3 separate regions of the Homo sapiens genome follow, and all the other regions are linked to region 3. Evidence: promoter capture Hi-C in 16 types of primary human blood cells and fetal thymus (Javierre and others, 2016). All regions are on one chromosome and are shown on one strand. Each heading gives the region's core, a stretch centred on a gene start or on the middle of the fragment in contact. The rest is flanking DNA. Distances are from core to core; before and after follow the strand shown.

Region 1 (2,983 bases), core at 262-2,761, 200 kb before region 3:
CACACCCCACCTGGCCTGCCTTCTGGTCCCTGAAGTGCTGGCCAGTCCCCTCATTTTCTGAATGAAGTTACTGAGAAGAGACTCCTGGGTTACACAGGGACAGGAGGGTGGTGTCCCCAGCACGTGGGTAAGGCAGGCTCAGTCCTTGAGTGCTCCGAGGGAGGCTTTCTAAACCTCTTATTTAACTCCAGAAGAAAGCAGCCTTCTCGCAGGGCCATCCTTAAGCAACATGTCTTCGCCTGAACCAATATTTACAGAGCACCTGCTATGTTCTCGTTAGACAGCTTTGCCTGGCACTGCCTTCCTCTAAGGAGGCCGAATATGGTCCAGTGCCCCAAGGGGCAGGGCCCAACTCCTGAGGGAGGTCAGAGTGGCTGAGGTGAGACTGTGGTAGCCCCGGGGGACAGGTTCAGAGAAATCCAGGCTCTGGGGTTTCCCACATTGGAGTCCTGGGGCAAGTGGTTTGGGCCTTTCTGTGCCTCAGTCTCCTCATCTACGAAACGGGGATTAGAAGAGCCCCTTTCCAAGGGCTACCATGAGGATTAAACAAGTCAAAAAATGTGCCAGTGCTTAGAACAGTCCCTGGAATGTGTCAGTGCAACTGAGCTGGGGAGTGTCGTCGTTATTTTCCGGACCCACATGAACTGGCGCCTGCCCATCTCTCTGCCTCCATCTCCTGCCCTCTCCCCCATTGTTTCAGTTCATTGAGCATCCCCAGCTTTTTCTTGTGTCAGGAACTTTGCACTTCCTGTTCCTCTGTCTAGGATACGCTTCCCCTAGATCCTTCCATGGCTCCCCACTCTCCTCTTCTGGGCTCAGCTGAAACCCACTCCTCAGAGAAGCCTTTGCTGTTGCATCTGTTGAAAACAGGAGTCCCAGCCCACTCTGTCAGGCCACCTTGCTTTGTGTGAAATGGTCTTATCTGTTTCCTTGTTCATCTCCTCCAGCTCCCGAGAGACAGAAGCTGACCCTGTTTTGCTTATCGATGTATCTCCAGCACCTGGAAAAATGCCTGGCACATAGCAGGTACTCAATAAATACTTTACTCAATCAGCTAATTAACTCATTAATTAATCAAGTAACTGATCGATTGATTAATTAATTAATATCACTTCATTGAATTCCTTAAGGCCTTCAACAGCCTTCAGCTATGCAGTTGCCTTTTTTTTTAATGACTTTTGTAGTTCTCGGAAATTAGCCAGTTAACTAAAATCTGCGGTCTGCCTGGCCCTGACACCCTCCTCCACTTCCTTGATACTGACCTGCCTTGACCATCTCACCCAATCTAACTCTGATTCATGACCAAGTCTTCAAGGTCCAAATGTACGTGATGCTTACCCAAGAGGGCTGCAAGGCCATGGCTGGAGAGCCCTCATGTCACGCCATGCTGTCACTCGAGAGAGAAGGGCAGAGATGAAAGGGTGATGGGACACGTGAGCCACCTTGGCCTTGCTGAGGGGAGTCACTTCCGGTGGCAGGGAGGGCAGCTTAAGAAGGGAAAAAAAGACTTCGTCATGTTTGAGAGAGAGGTCTTGCCCTGGGGAAAGTCGAAGATACAGAAGAAAAGAAAGAGTGCTGATAACAAAATATGATCAACATGGTGTCACAGGGCTCCTGGAAAATCAAGTCAGATGCTTTTCCTCCTCTGCTCAGAGTCCTTTCGTGATCAAAGACGGAGAATGACTGCAGGCAAAGACCTGGAGGAGTTGGAAGCCTCTTGAGGTGCTTGTGGGATTGTAAAATGGTGCAGCCTCAAAAGGTAAACATAGGGGTCCCCTAAGACCCAGCAGTTCCACTCCTGGGTATATGCCCAGGAGAAAGGAAAGAGCATGTCCACACGGAAGCCTGGACACAAATGTTCACAGCAGCCAAGCAGTGAAAATAACCCACACCCCCATCAGCTGGTGAATAGGTAAATAAAATGTGGCATAACCACGCACTGGAATATGACTCAGCATAAAAAGGAATGAAGGGCTGACGCGTGCTACACCATGGATGAACCTTGAAAACATTGATAAGTGAAAGAAGCCAGACACAAAGGCCACATGTATGATTCTGCTTATATAAAATGTCCATAGTAGGCACATCTATGGGGACAAAAAGTAGACCAGTGGTTGCCAGGGGCTGGGGAGAATGAGGAGTGACTGCTACAGGTTTGGGGTTTCATCTTGGAGTGGTGAAAATGTTCTAAAAGTGACGGTAAAAGTGATGGTAATGATGGTTGCACAACTCCGTGAATATACAAAAAACCATCAAATTACACACTTTATTTACTTTTTCTTTTTTTCAAGAGACAGGGTCTCACTCTGTCACCCAGGCTGGAGTGCAGTCTTGAAGTCTTGGGTTCAAACCATCCTCCCGCCTCGGCCTCCTGACTAGCTTGGACAACAAGTATATGCCACTATGTACACCTGATGTTTTCATTTTTGTTGAGACAGGGTCTCACTTTGTTGCCCAGGCTGCTCTCAAAATTCTGGTCATCCTCCCACCCTGGCCTCCCAAAGCGCTGGGATTACAAGTGTGAGCCATCATGCCTGGCCAAATTATATACTTTAAATGGGTGAATGTATGATATGCAAATTATATCTCAATGAAAACTGTTATTTTAAAGAAATGGCCAGGCATGGTGGCCCATGCCTATAATCCCAGTGCTTTTGGAGGCTGAGGCAGGAGGATCCCTTGAGGCCAGGAGTTCGAGATCAGCCTGGGCAACACAGCCAGACACCATCTCTACAAAAAATAAAAAGTTAGCCAGGTAAAGTGGCACACACCTCTAGTTTCAGCTACTGAGGAGGCTGAGGTGGGAGAATCACGTGAGCCCAGGAAGTCGAGGCTGCAGTGAGTGAGCTGTGATTGTGTCACTGCACTCCAGCCTGGGCAACACAGTGAGACCCTGTCTCTCAAGAAAACAAAAAGAAAGAAACCTTTCCGTGGCTCCCACCTCATTCAGCATAAAAGCCAAAGCCCTCACCATGGCCCACAA
Region 2 (2,971 bases), core at 160-2,659, 140 kb before region 3:
TAGGAACTGACTCAGGGCAAAGGGACAGCTTCGACTCCCTGTGATTTCATCTCCGACCCAACCAATCAGTACTCCCGATTTCCCGACCTCCCTACACACCAAATTATCCTTCAAAACTCCAATCCCTGAGTTTTCAGGGAGACTGATTTGAGTAATAGTAAAACTCCCGTCTCCCACACTGCCAGCTGTGTGTGAATTAAACGTTCTCTATTATGGCAGGGCGAGGTGGCTTGCGCCTGTAATCCCAGCACTTCGGGAGGCTGAGGTGGGCGGATCACAGTTTCCCTGTCCTAATAAATGGGCTCTGTCTAGGCAGCGGGCAAGGAGAAACTGTTGGGCAGTTACAGAAGCATGTAAGTTTTGTGTTAGGCCTGATGACTTCAGAAATTATCTTCAATGATTTTCCCCTAAAACCTTGTTGACATTTAGGGAGAAATAACCTTTCCTGAAGCTCATTAGAAACAAGCTGTCACCAATGCGTCACCACCTAACTGGTGAGTCAGTTCGCAAGTTTCATTTTCTTCATCTCAAAAATGAAAGCTCTAGATCTAGGATTAGACGCTTTTACCATTTAAAACATGAAGTCAAGTCAAATGAAAGAAAGGGGCTGACAGGTGAGGAATTCATTATAATTGCAAAGAACTGTACCACAGAATGCAGCCGAATCCCTTCTTTCATTCTTATTATTATTTAGAGAGCTGGGAACTGGTTAAACTTTAAAAAATATAATTTATTTTTATGTATTTATTTTTGCCTAAAGATCATTCATGCAAGTAAATCAATCTCCCCTCCCCTCCCCTTCCCCTTTCCCTCCCCTTCCCCTTCCTTTCCTTTCCTTTCCTTTCCGAGCCAAGGTCTCCCTTTGTTGCCCAGGCTGCTTTCAAACTCCTGGCCTCAAGCAATTCTCCTGCCTCATGCCTCCCAAAGTGCTGGGATTACAGGCCTGAGCCACCATCTTTTGCTTTCAGTGATAAAACACAGAAACACAGTGGAGGTGAAAGCAACTCCATCTTGGTTGCTAATCCACCAAGATAACTTCCGATTAATGCCTCTTCCAGGAAGGTCTCTAAGATTTCTACTTTACTGTTACCATAAATTCTGCCCTTAGATCAGAACAACCTAGATCATAAATCCTTCCCTTATGCGGATTCACATAACATTCTTGCCTTGCTTGAGGGGTCAACTTCAATTGTCCTACATATATTCCTTCCCTATGGTATGGAAGCCCTGGGCCGGGGGTTATGGCGCAGCAAACCTTATATCCTCTGATGACCACCCTGAGACTATGGCTTCTGTTGGTAAGTCCCTAATAAATGTTTTTTCCTGAGAAACTGGGTTTGTCAACCCCTTTCTTTGGCCTCTCAGCTCCCTTGGCCTTTGGGGTAGGTTTGCATAGGCCTGCTCACCCCGGAACACAGTGTATGAATATAAATGTAAATTGCACTTGCATTACAGCCGTGGAGACGTGTTGCTGAGGAAGCAGAGAGCAAAGCCCCGCTGGGATGTGAGTTTGCTTCTGGGTTCCTCCCATGCAAATGAGGTGGTTCGTGGCAGTGCAGAGGAGGAGTGAGATGGCAAACAGGGGGGCCCAGACCTTCCAGCAACTTACACACTTGCCCTCTGATGGCCAAGAATGCGTCAACAGCCCTCGAGGCCAGTGCAGTACAATCATGGTGGCACGAGATGTGGTGTACACTCCCCAAATGATCATCCTGCTCACTTTTGCTGTGGTTTCAGTCATCAAGTCAGGTTTTGCCTTAACACTTTTCTGCTGATTACTCCCATCAGCCTCTTCTAACTCATGTGCATTTGAAACATTAGAGATTTCAGAATGGGAAGATCACACCTGGTGTGAGAATCTGAGCTCCAAGTAGTGCCTGGAATCACAATGCTTATGATAATCACATCCATGGCACTTTAATGATAAAGAACCACGGACCAAAACGAATACAGAAAGCAACAAAACTACAATGGAGATGCCGGGGATCGAACCCGGGGCCTCATACATGCAAAGCATGCGCTCTACCACTGAGCTACATCCCCCTCCCTTTCCTGTACTTGCTTTTGGAAGTCCTTGCTATACTCTATTCTTAAAGGCGTTTTTCCTGTTTCCACGTGTTTCATTTTTATTTTTGGTTTTTATTATTGTTTGGACGCATAACAATTGTGCACATTTATGAGGTGTGGTGTGATGTTGTGATCTATGTACACAATTTGTAATGTTCAAATCAGGGCAATGACCACATCCATCCCTTCAAACATGTATCATTTCTCTGTGCTGGGAGACATTAAAAATCCACGCTTCCAGCTATTTGAAAACGTACAATAAGTTGTTGTATTCACTCTATAGGGACACTGGAACTTATTCCTCCTATTCAGCTGTACTTTTGTATCCAGTAACCCCCCTTTGGCTATCCCACCTCCCCCCACCTTCACTACCTGCAGTAACCACTATTCTCTCTGTGAGACCAACTATTTCAGCTTCCGCACGTGAGTGAGATCATGCAGTATTTATCTTTCTGTGCCCGGTTTATTTCACTTTATGTAATGTCGCCCAAACTTAGCCATGTTTTTATTTTTGTTTCGTAGAGGAAAAATGACAGGATTTCATTTTGTTTTGTATTTTTTTAAGGTCGAATAGTATTCTATTGCGTATGTACACATTTTCTCTATCCATGTATCTGTTGACGGACACATCTAGGCACTTATGAATAAAGCTGCAATACACACGGGAGTGCGAGAGGCTTTTAGTTTTTGGTTGGTTGGTTTGTTTTGAGACAGAGTTTTGCTCTGTCGCCCAGGCTGGAGTGCAGTGGCATGATCTGGGCTCACTGCAACCTCCGCCTCCTGGGTTCAAGCGATTCTCCTGCCTCAGCCTCCCGAGTAGCTGGGACTACAGGCGTGCACCACCACGCCTGCTAATTTCTGTATTTTTAGTAGAGATGGGGGGGGGTTCAGCATGTTGGCCAGG
Region 3 (2,897 bases), core at 186-2,685:
CAAATTTTGGGAGATCAGGGAGGCTCTGGAGGGGGTGCTCTCAGACCTGGGCTCACTCTTGTAATCCCAGCACTTTGGGAGGCCGAGGCGGGTGGATCACCTGAGGTCAGGACTTCAAGACCAGCCTGGCCAACATGGTGAAATCCCGTCTCTACAAAAATGCAAAAATGAGCCGGGCTCGGTAGCTCACGCCTGTAATTCCAGCACTTTGGGAGGCTGAGGCGGGCGGATCACCTGAGGCCGGGAGTTGGAGACCAGCCTGACCAACATGGAAAAACCCTGTCTGTACTAAAAATACAAAATTAGCCAGGCGTGGTGGCACATGCCTGTAATCCCAGGTACTCGAGAGGCTGAGGCAGGAGAATTGCTTTAACCTGGGAGATGGAGGTTGCCGTGTGCCGAGATCTCGCAATTGCACTCCAGCCTGGGTAACAAGAGCGAAACTTCGTCTCAAAAAAACAAAACAAACAACAACAACAACAAAAAAAAAAACACGAAAAATTAGCTGGGCATGATGGCGTGTGCCTGTAATCCCAGCTACTCAGGAGGCTGAGGCAGGAGAATCGCTTGAACCTGGGAAGCAGAGGTTACAGTGAGCTGAGATTGGGACATTGCACTCCAGCCTGGGCGACTGAGTGAGACTCAAAAAAAAAAAAAAAGCTAAGGCGGGGAGGGGGCCTTCCAGGTCATAGGTAGATAAGGGACAAATGGCTGCATTCTTTTGAGTTTTCAATTAGCCTCTGCAAAGGAGGCAATCAGGTGTGCATTTAACTCAGCAGAGGGGTGACTTTGAATAGAATGGAGGCAGGTTAGCCCTAAGCAGTTCCCAGCTTTTCTTTTCCCTTTAGCTTAGTAGTGGGGCCCCAAGATTTATTTTCCTTTCACAAATGTGTATTTTGATACCCATTGGCATACTATGTATATTATTGTATTATACTATGACATTATCTTGTGTATGTACACGATGTACTTATTTGTTAATCGTCTCCCGTCTTCCTCACACCTGTACCCCTCCTCTCCTGTTGACAGAGAACAAGAATTTTGTTTTGTTCGCTGCTGTATCCGCAAAGCTCCCAAAGTCCTCCGAATGCCGCAGGCTCTCAGTAAAGACCTGCAGGAAGAAATAGCGAATGAATGATGTACACGTGTAGGAAACAGCGGGCTCGGACGCCTGGCTTCTCCGGCTGCCCTAACGCCCTCCAGCTCCAGGTGAGGTCGGGGAGCTGGGGCCAAGGCTCGTGAGCGCCCCTCACCCCCACGCCCCCCGGCCGCGGGCGCTGGAGCCGGCGGCTGCGAGCACTCCTTTGAGCGGCGCTGCACTCAGCGGAGGGTTACAGGCGGGAGGGCGGGGCCTGGAAGGGGGCGGGGATTCGAGGCGGGGCCTGCGGGGCGGGGCCTGGGCCAAGCGGCCCGCAGGAGGCGGCGGCGGCCGTTCAGTCCCTTGTTCCCCGCCGCCGCCGTCGCTGACCCAGCCCGCCAGGCGCTCCTGACCGTCGCTTCCTCCGGTCCCAGGTCCCCGGCCCTCGCCTCAGCCCCGGCCCCTGGTCCCCAGCCCTCGTCGCAGCCCCGGCCGCCCGCCGCCGCCATGTCCAAGGAGGAGCGCCCCGGTCGGGAGGAGATCCTGGAGTGCCAGGTGATGTGGGAGCCTGACAGTAAGAAGAACACGCAGATGGACCGCTTCCGGGCGGCTGTGGGCGCCGCCTGCGGCCTGGCGCTGGGTGAGAGTCGGGCGCGCGGCCGGGCCTGCGGGGGATGGGCGGGAGCCGTGCAGGGTGGTTGGGTGGTCTCCCCATGGCTAGTTTCACGCTTCTGGGGCTGGAGGAGCCACTTGATGGCGGGGAGGCCTTCTGACTGCGGGGTTCCCCCCAGTCTTGGGGAACATCACCCCTCCACAGCACCTCCTGGCACTTCCTGACTCTGCAGCGTCTCCTCTGCATGTGGGGGTCACCCTCTCCCCGGGAGTGTCACCCCTCGGGAGGGCCAGCTGCCTGTTGACCGTGTGACCCCTTGCTAGGCTTTCCTACCTGTGAGGTGCTCCCTGGAGTCTTGACCTCCGGCCTGTGGGGGCTTCCCCCGGACATAGGGCCTTTTTGACTTGCAGCTCTTCCTCTGTTTGTGGGGGTCCCTTGCCAGTCCCCAGTGCCGTGCACTCTGTCCCCCTGACCTCCCTCATCTCCAGCTGCCCCTGCTGGAGGCCAGCACCTAGCAGGATGGTCAGGCAGGAGGCCCTGTCCACGTGTCTACACTCCCAGCCCCCAAACAGAACCTAGTAAAAGACTCTCTTTCCACCCATCACCTTGAACCTCAGAAACTGCCTCTCTCGGTGCGGGTGGGGCAAAGGCTCCTTCTCCGTGGGGTAACCGCTCCGGGTGCTCTTCCTGAGCTCTAGCTGGCTTGCCCAACTACCAGCTCCACCCCTCCACCCTGCCTCCCCTAGGTATTCCTAGGGGATTTTTTTTTTTTTTTTTTGAGACAGTTTCTCTCTCGTTGCCCAGGCTGGAGTGCAATGGCGAGATCTCGGCACACTGCAACCTCCGCCTCCCGGGTTCAAGTGATTCTCCTGCCTCAGCCTCCCGAGTAGCTGGGATTACAGGCATACACCACCACGCCTGGCTAATTTTGTATTTTTAGTAGAGACGGAGTTTCTCCATGTTGGTCAGGCTGGTCTCGAACTCCTGACCTCAGGTGATCCGATCGCCTTGGCCTCCCAAAGTGCTGGGATTACAGGTGTGAGCCACGGCGCCTGGCCTCCTAGGGGATTTTTAACTCATGGTCTCCCCTCCTCACCCCCTCCGCTGGCGCAGGGACTCCCTTGTTTCTGTTGGTGGCGTCACTGTTCTTGCTCAGGCTCACAGGGATGGACACCCCAGTCACCTGTGGCACCAGAAGTCTTCTGC

The links. The method cuts DNA at HindIII sites, captures the fragments that hold promoters and counts their contacts. A CHiCAGO score of 5 or more calls a contact.
Region 1: a contact is called between a fragment that was not itself captured here and the fragment with the promoter of AACS in region 3, in 1 of 17 cell types (neutrophils). The highest score is 5.6, in neutrophils.
Region 2: a fragment that was not itself captured here is called in contact with the fragment with the promoter of AACS in region 3 in 1 of 17 cell types (neutrophils); the score reaches 5.8 in neutrophils.

The regions. Positions count from the first base shown.
Region 1 is chr12:124,865,651-124,868,633 of GRCh38, forward strand. It overlaps LOC105370050 (a long non-coding RNA gene), which reads left to right. Exons shown (of 3, transcript XR_945488.3): 2 at 948-1,026. Among named protein-coding and RNA genes, the nearest start is that of SCARB1, 3.3 kb to the left of the region's middle. RefSeq lists enhancers at 249-418, 847-2,046. The HindIII fragment of the contact is 4,035 bases long and covers 1-2,983 here.
Region 2 is chr12:124,919,784-124,922,754 of GRCh38, forward strand. It overlaps TRA-TGC3-2 (tRNA-Ala (anticodon TGC) 3-2), which reads right to left and starts at 2,043; the gene lies at 1,972-2,043. RefSeq lists enhancers at 1,249-1,438, 1,274-1,952, 1,519-1,838 and a cis regulatory region at 1,494-1,664. The HindIII fragment of the contact is 6,001 bases long and covers 1-2,971 here.
Region 3 is chr12:125,064,000-125,066,896 of GRCh38, forward strand. AACS (acetoacetyl-CoA synthetase) reads left to right here and starts at 1,436. Exons shown (of 18, transcript NM_023928.5): 1 at 1,436-1,718. The coding sequence starts at 1,586. LOC105370052 (a long non-coding RNA gene) reads right to left here. Exons shown (of 4, transcript XR_001749365.2): 3 at 1,004-1,111. RefSeq lists a silencer at 1,077-1,696. The HindIII fragment of the contact is 11,218 bases long and covers 1-2,897 here.